Linked DNA regions of Homo sapiens: region 2 is linked to region 1. Evidence: promoter capture Hi-C in 16 types of primary human blood cells and fetal thymus (Javierre and others, 2016). All regions are on one chromosome and are shown on one strand. The core of a region is centred on a gene start or on the middle of the fragment in contact, and the rest is flanking DNA. Distances in the headings are between cores, read along the strand shown. Region 1 holds the start of WDR35 (WD repeat domain 35). Region 2 has its middle 17 kb from the start of SDC1.

What was found. The method cuts DNA at HindIII sites, captures the fragments that hold promoters and counts their contacts. A CHiCAGO score of 5 or more calls a contact.
Region 2: a contact is called between a fragment that was not itself captured here and the fragment with the promoter of WDR35 in region 1, in 1 of 17 cell types (fetal thymus). The highest score is 5.0, in fetal thymus.

The regions. Positions count from the first base shown.
Region 1 is chr2:19,988,022-19,992,973 of GRCh38, reverse strand. WDR35 (WD repeat domain 35) reads left to right here and starts at 2,869. Exons shown (of 27, transcript NM_020779.4): 1 at 2,869-2,982; 2 at 3,692-3,809. The coding sequence starts at 2,959. It overlaps WDR35-DT (WDR35 divergent transcript), which reads right to left and starts at 2,770. Exons shown (of 3, transcript NR_110235.1): 1 at 2,480-2,770. It overlaps MATN3 (matrilin 3), which reads left to right. Exons shown (of 8, transcript NM_002381.5): 8 at 1-922. RefSeq lists a silencer at 2,649-2,728 and enhancers at 2,889-2,938, 2,569-3,072, 3,089-3,138. The HindIII fragment of the contact is 12,234 bases long and covers 1-4,952 here.
Region 2 is chr2:20,240,290-20,244,888 of GRCh38, reverse strand. It overlaps the pseudogene DRG1P1. Among named protein-coding and RNA genes, the nearest start is that of SDC1, 17 kb to the right of the region's middle. RefSeq lists silencers at 2,344-2,573, 3,608-3,754. The HindIII fragment of the contact is 3,794 bases long and covers 157-3,950 here.

The sequences.
Region 1 (4,952 bases), core at 1,620-4,119:
TAAATTGTATGAAGATCTTCTGCAGAATCAGCATGATTCTTCCAAGGAAATACATATGCAGATACTTATTAAGAGCAAACTTTAGTGTCTCTAAGTTATGACTGTGAAATGATTGGTAGGAAATAGAATGAAAAGTTTAGTGTTTCTTTATCTACTAATTGAGCCATTTAATTTTTAAATGTTTATATTAGATAACCATATTCACAATGGAAACTTTAGGTCTAGTTTCTTTTGATAGTATTTATAATATAAATCAATCTTATTACTGAGAGTGCAAATTGTACAAGGTATTTACACATACAACTTCATATAACTGAGATGAATGTAATTTTGAACTGTTTAACACTTTTTGTTTTTTGCTTATTTTGTTGGAGTATTATTGAAGATGTGATCAATAGATTGTAATACACATATCTAAAAATAGTTAACACAGATCAAGTGAACATTACATTGCCATTTTTAATTCATTCTGGTCTTTGAAAGAAATGTACTACTAAAGAGCACTAGTTGTGAATTTAGGGTGTTAAACTTTTTACCAAGTACAAAAATCCCAAATTCACTTTATTATTTTGCTTCAGGATCCAAGTGACAAAGTTATATATTTATAAAATTGCTATAAATCGACAAAATCTAATGTTGTCTTTTTAATGTTAGTGATCCACCTGCCTCAGCCTCCCAAAGTGCTGGGATTACAGGCTTGAAAGTCTAACTTTTTTTTACTTATATATTTGATACATATAATTCTTTTGGCTTTGAAACTTGCAACTTTGAGAACAAAACAGTCCTTTAAATTTTGCACTGCTCAATTCTGTTTTTCGTTTGCATTGTCTTTAATATAATAAAAGTTATTACCTTTACATATTATCATGTCTATTTTTGATGACTCATCAATTTTGTCTATTAAAGATATTTCTTTAAATTATACTGAATTAACAGTTATTTTGATATTCAACAGTTTCTTATCAAAAGACAGAAGTTTGATTCTCCTCCTATAGTTTAATCTCACACTCCTGAGGCTAAAAGTGTAAGTTCAGGTTCAAAAGAAAGGCTTCAATATAAAATTATCTAAATTTGGATAAAATAATGATGAGCTTTACATTAATATAAGCTCCTGAGAAGCAAATATATCCTACAGATGTAAATATAAAATATAAACTTTAAGGAAGGAACAAAAACTAAATATACCAAGGAAATATATAAAGCATCTCTTACTTTTCAAAAATTTTGAAAGGGTATGACATAGAGCTACAGTAGTATTTTCCAGACTTTTTTGAGCCCAAAATCAGTAATACATATTAATATACCACAGAGAAATGGTGGTATAGAAGGAATAAATGAGAGTTCATGTGCAAGAAGGGAAAGATAAAGAGAGGTGAGTTTTCAGGTGTCACCATCAGTAACTAGCTTCAACTAATTATGTCTTGACCAGTTTATTGGAAACTCCTGGGTTAGATAATACTAATTTGTCTCATGCGTCCAGTATAGGGAGCCTATGGACAGGGGCCAATGTATCTTAAACAGACACACAAACAATGGAAAGCAAACATTATCTGAATGGGATTGGGTTAAGTTTGGAAAGAATTCCTCATGGAGACTGATTTGTGCTGGTTTGGCTAGGCACAACTGGCCTGTTAAGAGGGTAGGACCATATATAAAGTGGCTTGGGAAGCAGAGCCGGATGGAATGTTGCCCTGCAGAAAGCATATTGGCTTACTTGAGGTGGGGGCTCCCTAGTAAAAACATTTAGGATTGAGGGAAGATCTGATTTTGGATGGAGTTTAGATTTGCTAGGAAAGGCACTAGGGACTATTGTCAATTCTATAATAGATTGTGCTGGGTGAGACAAATCACCCAGGTCAAAGGATTGGAGGATTTTTATTTTATTTTTGTCTGAGATGGGAAAAGACTCCAAGTGGGGAAATTAACTACTGATGCATAAATTACATGCTAGATTATGGTAAAAGGGAAAACCAGAAATAAAAACATAGGTGAGACCAAATAATTTCATGAGTGGTTCTACTTGGATTTCTGCCCTATGCCTTAGACTTTGAGGCTTTGTAACTCTCAAGCATTCCAAAAGGACAAAGGAGAATGAAGAAAGAAGGTAAGAAAAAGAAGAGAATATGTAACAGTCGACTCTAGACGAGAAAACACCAAACGCTCAAATATTTGTAAAATGGGAGGCCATGCCCCAATAGCAATTGTACGCTGTAATTACCCAACGTTTACAGAAATTCCTTTAAAAGGACCCTCGGGGTTGCGGTAATAATTAAACTGTTAAAAAATATCAAAACAAGCGGAATAAACAAAATCTTCTATTCCTAAATTGCTCTAGAGGTTCTCCAATCCCCAAAGACACAGAGAAGGGTTGTAAGATCTCAGTACGCACATTTGCACTTTCATCTGGCCAGTGGCGCCAGCCTATCAAATACAGTAAATGGCTTTTCCCTTTCAAGAATGTTGGAACTTTGGAACTTACAAAATACTAAATAATTTGCCCTTATTCGAACGGGCGCCTCTCCTCTTAGGTTTATAGTAATGCCACCTGAGGCGCGGCTCCATAGCGATCATCACAGGTGTGGCGGGAGGGAGGGCGGCAGTGACCACGAGACGGGGCGCAGAGGGCGAGCGCACGGCTGGCAGTGACAGGTCGCGACCCAGCTCCTTGCGGAGAGCAGAAAGGCCCAGACGCCAGGGAACAGGACTAGCCCAGCTACCGCCTCGCGCCTCGCGCCCTGCGCCCACAAACCCATCGACGTCCGCGCAGGCGCACTACGCCGGTGCCCGGTGCGAGGGCGTCACCGGAAGTGTCCCGCGGCGCCCCGGATGCGACCGGGCAACAGCGGTTGCCAGGGCGACGGGAGCTTTCCGGAGCTGCTGGTACTCCCGATTGGAGACGTAGAACCGTTACTTGTCGAGGGCCTTAGCGGCCGCCGTGACCCTCTCGGGGATCCCACGATGTTCTTCTACCTGAGCAAGAAAGTGAGTTTCCTGGGGGGCGTCCTCGTTTCTCCGCCATTCCCGCAGCCTGCGGCGATTCCCGCTGCCTTCCCGAGAAGCCAGGCTCCTTCACCCGGTCCTGGTCGTGGCTTCGCCATTCCGCAGCCATCCTTCCCGCCGGGTCCAGCCTCCGACCTCTTCCTGCGGTTCCCAGAGCCTCAGTCTTTGGCCGAGCTTGCTGCCCTCTCGCAGCACTCTCCCATTCCTGCCCCTGGCTAGGTCCTTTTGGGTGGCTTGAGGATAAGTCGCCACGTGCTACCCTATGTTTCCTCCTCCACTTGTTGCTGATCCACGTGATTTAAACTCTTTGGATCACCACGAGCCATTGGGCAAGAGAAAAGAAATAACAATAGGATAGCCTAAGTTGTAGGTAAAAAGGAAGAGGGACTGGTGGTATGGATTTATACCCTCTCCCCGTCCTCCCTTTAAAAAATCCATCCGGTGAGACTCTGGCGTTGGCTTCCTCCGCAGTCACTATCCTTCTCTTTTGTGCACTTCTTTCCCTCTTTCCCAAATGCTAGAGCCCGGGTCAGTTCAGGGGACCATGCCCATTTTCACAACAGCTCATTTTTTTTCTGCAAGGCCGTTCGTTTTTCTTCTTGGAAGATTTTCTTCAGCTTTCATCTCCTGCAGACTTACTTCCCAGCTCCTTCGTGAAAAGTTGCTAGTGCGGCTGTGGTTGCTTTTTCAGATTTCCATTCCCAATAACGTGAAGCTGCAGTGTGTATCCTGGAACAAGGAACAAGGGTTCATAGCATGCGGTGGTGAAGATGGATTACTGAAAGTTTTGAAATTAGAGACGCAGACAGGTAAATGAATGCAAGCCCACATGTTTGGTAGTAAATTGGCTAATGTTATTTGTTCAGTGCGGTCTACTCATGTTATCTGTCAATATGCAGTTCTGATTATTTTAAAGGGAAAACTACCAAAACATTTTATGGTGTTTTTCTGGAGTATATTTGCAATAAAGTTCAGAGAATGTTGAATGTAAACATCGGATGGTTTTTGCTGAGTTATTAATGGAAAATGAAAAATAATGAAGAATGAAAATAAGTCACTGTGTTATGCTATGTCTAATTATTGTACTATATTATTAGGAGTCTAAAAGAAATCCTGTGAGTCAACATTTCACTAAGAAAATCTGGCAGATTGTTTACAGGTCTGTGTCATCCTTTCTGCTTATCAGATGCATTAATGGTTATTCACCTAGTGTCCAAGAACAGAAAATGGGATACGTTTTACATTTCTATTAGTAGGTCTCTTGTCTTTGCTGCTTGATTTCTTTCTTTATCTAGTTCTCTGGAATCACAGCAAACAGCTTCCCACTTCTTAGCCCCCCTAGATTGAAGACCTAGATAAGGTAATTGGAGTTAAATCTCAGCTCTTCCACAAGACTACTGAATGACTTTCAACAAGTTAGCTGAGGATCTTACTACTTTAGTTTAGTCTTCCATAAAATGAAAATGTAGGGGGTTAAACTGCATTACATTTTTGGATTCCTTACAACATAGCTTCTCAAACTGTATTAGGTATAAGAATCACTGGAAGAGGTTGTTAAGATGGATTTCATGCTCTACCCCCACACAATAGACCCGGGATGGGGCCTGAGAATTTCCATTTCTAGTGAAGCTGAGTTGCTGGTCCTCAGACCGCACTTTGAATAGCATTACCTTACAACTTTGAATGCGGTATGAATAATAAATACTTATTGACGATTTTCCATGTAGTGGATGTTTAACCTTCACAATCTTATTTGACTTCACAATAATCTTGGGCAGTAGGTATTCTAGGTGAGAAAATTGAGGCTCTGAGCTGTTAACTGCCCTAGGTCACGCAGCCAGTAAGTGGCGGAACAAGGATGTGAAACTAAGTTTGTCTCACATTCAAGTCCTTGTTTTTAACCACTACACAAAGGGCTAGTGGACAGCCTAAGTAAAGAAGAGTACCAATTA
Region 2 (4,599 bases), core at 804-3,303, 250 kb before region 1:
AGTTTGAAGGAAGCCACAGTGACACTCCTTAATAAAGCTCTGCCAACTTGGCTTATAGCAAGGAAGCCATTGAACTGAGAAAGATTTGCCTGTTAGCCTTCTAAACCTTTCCCTCTCAACCTCTGCCTGGACAACGAAGTTAGGATGATGGAAGCTTCCTCAAAGCAGTAGGTATTTAGAAATCAGAAACAAGGGTCTCATCCAACTCTACGCAAAGCACACGTTTTCACCTTCATAGTCAGAAGATATGGGATGTTGGCCAATAATTCTTTATGAACATGGTCATCTAGGATCCTGAGGGAAGTCAAAAGCTGCTTGAGAAGATCATGTGTGATTTCCCTCAGCACACATTTTGGTGCCCATGCAGTTGAGCAGAAGCCTTCCACCCAGTTCAGGATCATATCTTTTTTGTGTAAACAGCATGTAGCTCATGGCCAGAAACAGGTTATGGAAGGAATGCTGAAGAGTGGAGGAAAATCCACCACAAATCATTCCATGACCAAATAGGACCATATGGAGAACATTCAGTCTTATCTTTTGTATTGTTTTGTTTTTTGAGACAGGGTCTCACTCTGTCGTCCAGGCTGTAGTGCGCTGGCATGATCACAGCTCACTGCAGCCTCAACCTCCCAGGCTCAAGCGATCTTCCCACCTCAGCCTCCTGAGTAGCTGGGACAATAGGTATGCACCACCGTGCCCAGCTCATTTTTAAATTTCTTGGTAAAGACAAGAGTCTTGTCATGTTGCCTGAATTGGTCTCAAACTCCTGGACTCAAGTGATCCTCCTGCCTCAGCATCCCAGAGTGCTGAGATCACAGGCATGAGCCACTGTGTCTGGCTGGTCTTACCTATTTTTTGAGAAGGCATGAGGTCCTAGGCGGGAGGGAAAAAAAGTAATTCCTAACTCAAAGCCTTTAAATCTAGACAGGAATCAAGATTTCAAAACTAATCAGTGCCTTGGGCTTGGAAGGGAAAGGTAAAATGAAGAGGATGAGGGGATGGCTTTGGGGGATTGAGAGCAAGGTGGGTGCAGCAGCCAGTGCATTTTCATAGTCTTATTTATTGAGCAACTACTTTGCGTCAGGTTTCATTTTTTGTTTGTTTTGAGATAGAGTCTTGCTCTGTCACCCAGGCTAGAGTGCAGAGTGCAGTGGCACAATCTCGGCTCACTGCAACCTCCACCTCCCAGGTTCAAGCGATTCTGCTGCCTCAGCCTCCCAAGTAGCTGGGATTATAGGCGTGGCCCACCATGCCCACCTAAGCCTAATTTTTGTATTTTTAGTAGAGACGGGGTTTCACCATGTTGGCCAGGCTGGTCTTGAACTCCTGACCTCAAGTGATCCGCCCACCTTGGCCTCCCAAAGTGCTGAGATTACAGGCATGAGCCACCGTGCCCGGCCTGTGTCAAGTATTCTTGATGCTGAGGATACAGCCCTCAAGAGGTGCACACCCCAGTGGAGGGAGAAACAGAATGAGATTCTTGATACAAGCAATGCTTCAGTTAACAATAGGGGTCATCACAGATTCTTGAGCAGGTGAGTGACAAGTGCGGTGGTGTGGAGGACCCAGCACAGGCTGGCAGAGCAGCAGTAGAGAGGGACTGGAGGCAGGGGAGGTAGCAGTGCCAGTTACAGAGCTGAGGGGCTCCCCGAGACATGGGCGGAGTCTCATCTCTTTCTTGCTTTATTCCCACCCCTGGCCTTTTATGGCCAGAAGCCTTGGAAAGCCGGGTCACACCTGGTGGGCCCCTTCCTATGGCAGGGATGAGGACAAAAGCACGTGTATGGGCTCGCCCTGGAGAAGAGGAGGGGTGTCTGGGAGTCCTCTTCTGCCCTGCTCCTTCAAAAGTCAGTTCTGGTTTGAGCACTGGAGTCTGGGCTTGGAAGGCACCTGTGAGCAGAGGAGGGAGGGGGTCACCCCCCAGAGTTTGGAAGGGTGACAGCTTCATCTATATTCCATTACCCACCCTCTTCTACAGTAGGGTAGAAAACTAGAGAAGGGACCTGGAAGACAAAGAGTCAGCTTTGTCACAGGAAGAGGCAGCTGTAGACACAACGGCAGCCACCAGGTGACCTAGAGCCCTCCCCACAGGCCCAAGCCTGGCTCACGCAGCAGGGTGGCAAGGGCCTGGGGGCGGCCTTAGAAAGCTGCAAAAGTGGCTGTGCGCGGTGGTGATCCCAGCACTTTGGAAGGCCGAGGCGGAGGCTCGCTTGAGTCCAGGAGTTCGAGGCCAGCCTGGGAAACATGGCGAGATGCCCCTGCCTTCCCTATAAAAAAAATAAAAATAATTTTTTTTAAAAAAGCAACTGACCCGCCTGGGTGACGCCCTCAAGCCCCCCCCCCCCCGCCCTTTCCCCACCCGGGCTTCAGTTTGCTCATTGGGGCCTAATCCAGCAGGGCTGTTGCGAAGCTGCCTGGGAGACACCAAGGGGGACCCCCGCCCCGTCCGCCGAGAGCGCCCCCTGGCGGCCCGGCCCTCCCCTGCGCCGCGGGTCCGGGGGCCCTTCCCAGTCCAGGCGCGGCGCACCCTGGGGGATCCGTCCAGCTCCAGAAGTTTCTTCGTCTAAATTACTTGGAGTTGATCTTTCTAAACAGGATTGCTCAGACACACCCTGCCTTCTCGAACAAGGAAAGAACTCTACCCATCCCACTCAACTGCCATGTACGACCGCCTGCAGCCTCATCACAGGGCACTTCCCATAACATCCTACCACCGCGGACCCCAGGCCTCGCCCCTAAAGCCCGAGCCCTGACATCCTGCAGCCTGGAATCGCACATCTCCAGTCACGTGGCCACTGGCCCCGTTTCGCCAAACATGTCCGGAACCGAACCCATCTTCTTGCACCAAACCTTCTTGTGCTCTTCCTCTTCCCTTCCTGAACAAGTCGGCCCTAAAGCCACAGGTGGGGCGACTAAATTTTTTCGTATAAATAAATCCCAAACATTGCATAGGACATAATTATACATTTTATACTAAAAAAAAATGTTCATCTGAAATTCAAATTTAACTGGGCATTCTGTTTTTATTTGCTAAATCTGACAACCCTACTGCCCCTGTCTCTGGCCAGCCAGTTCCTCCTCGTCTCCTGGAGCCAGCCCTGGAGCTTCCCTAGACAGATTCCAGGGACAGCTCCTCCAGGCACAAGGTCATGATGGCGGTGATGGCAAATTATTGCAATGGCTTGTTTTCTTACGTTTCTCCACCCACACTGTGAGTTGTTGGAAGGCCAGACTGTGTGTTTCTCTCTCTTTACCCCAAAGCCTGAAGTTAGGTGCTTAGGTAATGCTCACCACTGTAAAGCCAGTAGGAAGTAAGCGCGTTTTTCTGTTTTGTTTTTTGTTTGTTGTTGTTGTTGTTTTTGAGATGGAGTCTCGCTCTGTTGCCCAGGCTGGAGTACAGTGGCGCAATCTCGGCTCACTGCAACCTCCGCCTCCAGGGTTCAAGCGATTCTCCTGCTTCACCCTCCCGAGTAGCTGGGATTACACCCGCACGCCACCATGCCTGGCTAATTTTTGTATTTTTAGTAGAGACGGGGTTTCACCATGTTGGTCAGGCTGGTCCCAAACTCCTGGCCTCGTGATCTGCCCGCCTCAGCCTCCCAAAGTGCTGGGATTACAGGCATGAGCCACCACGCCCGGCCCTAAACGCGTTTTTAAAGGCGGTGTCTCTCGGTGAAGAGCTGTCACACAATGGTGCTCTCAGGGGTCTGTGGGCCACTGTACCGAGGCCTACACTCCCAAGTTCATTGAGTTACTTTTGAAAAGCATTATACTTGAGCTAGTTTGCCCGCGGGTGTGTGAAGGGAGACAGTCAGTGTGGAGGCCACAGGGTACTCGCCACGATGAGCAGCACCCTAGCTAAGATCGCGGAGACAGAAGAGGAGATGGCTTGGACTCAACAAGGCCACAGCACACCACCTGGGGCTGCTTAAGGCTCGTCTTGCTAAGCTTCGTCGAGAACTCACTACTCCAAAGGGTGGTGGTGGTGGTGGAGGTGCAGAAGAAGGTTTTGATGTGGCCGAGACAGGTGATGCTTGAATTGGATTTGTTGGTTTTCCATTTGTGGGGAAGTCGACACTGCTTAGTAACCTGGCAGGGGTATATTCTGAGGTGGCAGCCTATGAATTCACTACTCTGAGCACTGTGCCTGGTGTCATCAGATACAAAGGTGCCAAAATCCAGCTCCTGGATCTCCCAGGTATTATTGAAGGTGCCAGGGATGGGAAAGGTAGAGGTCGTCGATCATTGCAGTGGCCCGAACCTGTAACTTGATCCTGATTGTTCTGGATGTCCTGAAACCTTTGGGACATAAGAAGATAATTGAAAATGAGCTGGAAGTCTTTGGCATTCACTTGAACAGCAACCACCGCCCCCCAACAATGGCTTTAAGAAGAAGGACAAGGGAGGCATTCATCTCACAGCCACTTGCCCACAGAGTGAGCTGGATGCTGAAACTGTGAAGAGCATTCTGGCTGAATACAAGATTCATAATGCCGATGTGACTCTACGTAGTGATGCTACAGCTGATGACCTCATTGATGTGGTGGAAGGAAACAGAGTTTATATCCCCTGTATCTATGTTAAATAAGATTGACCAAA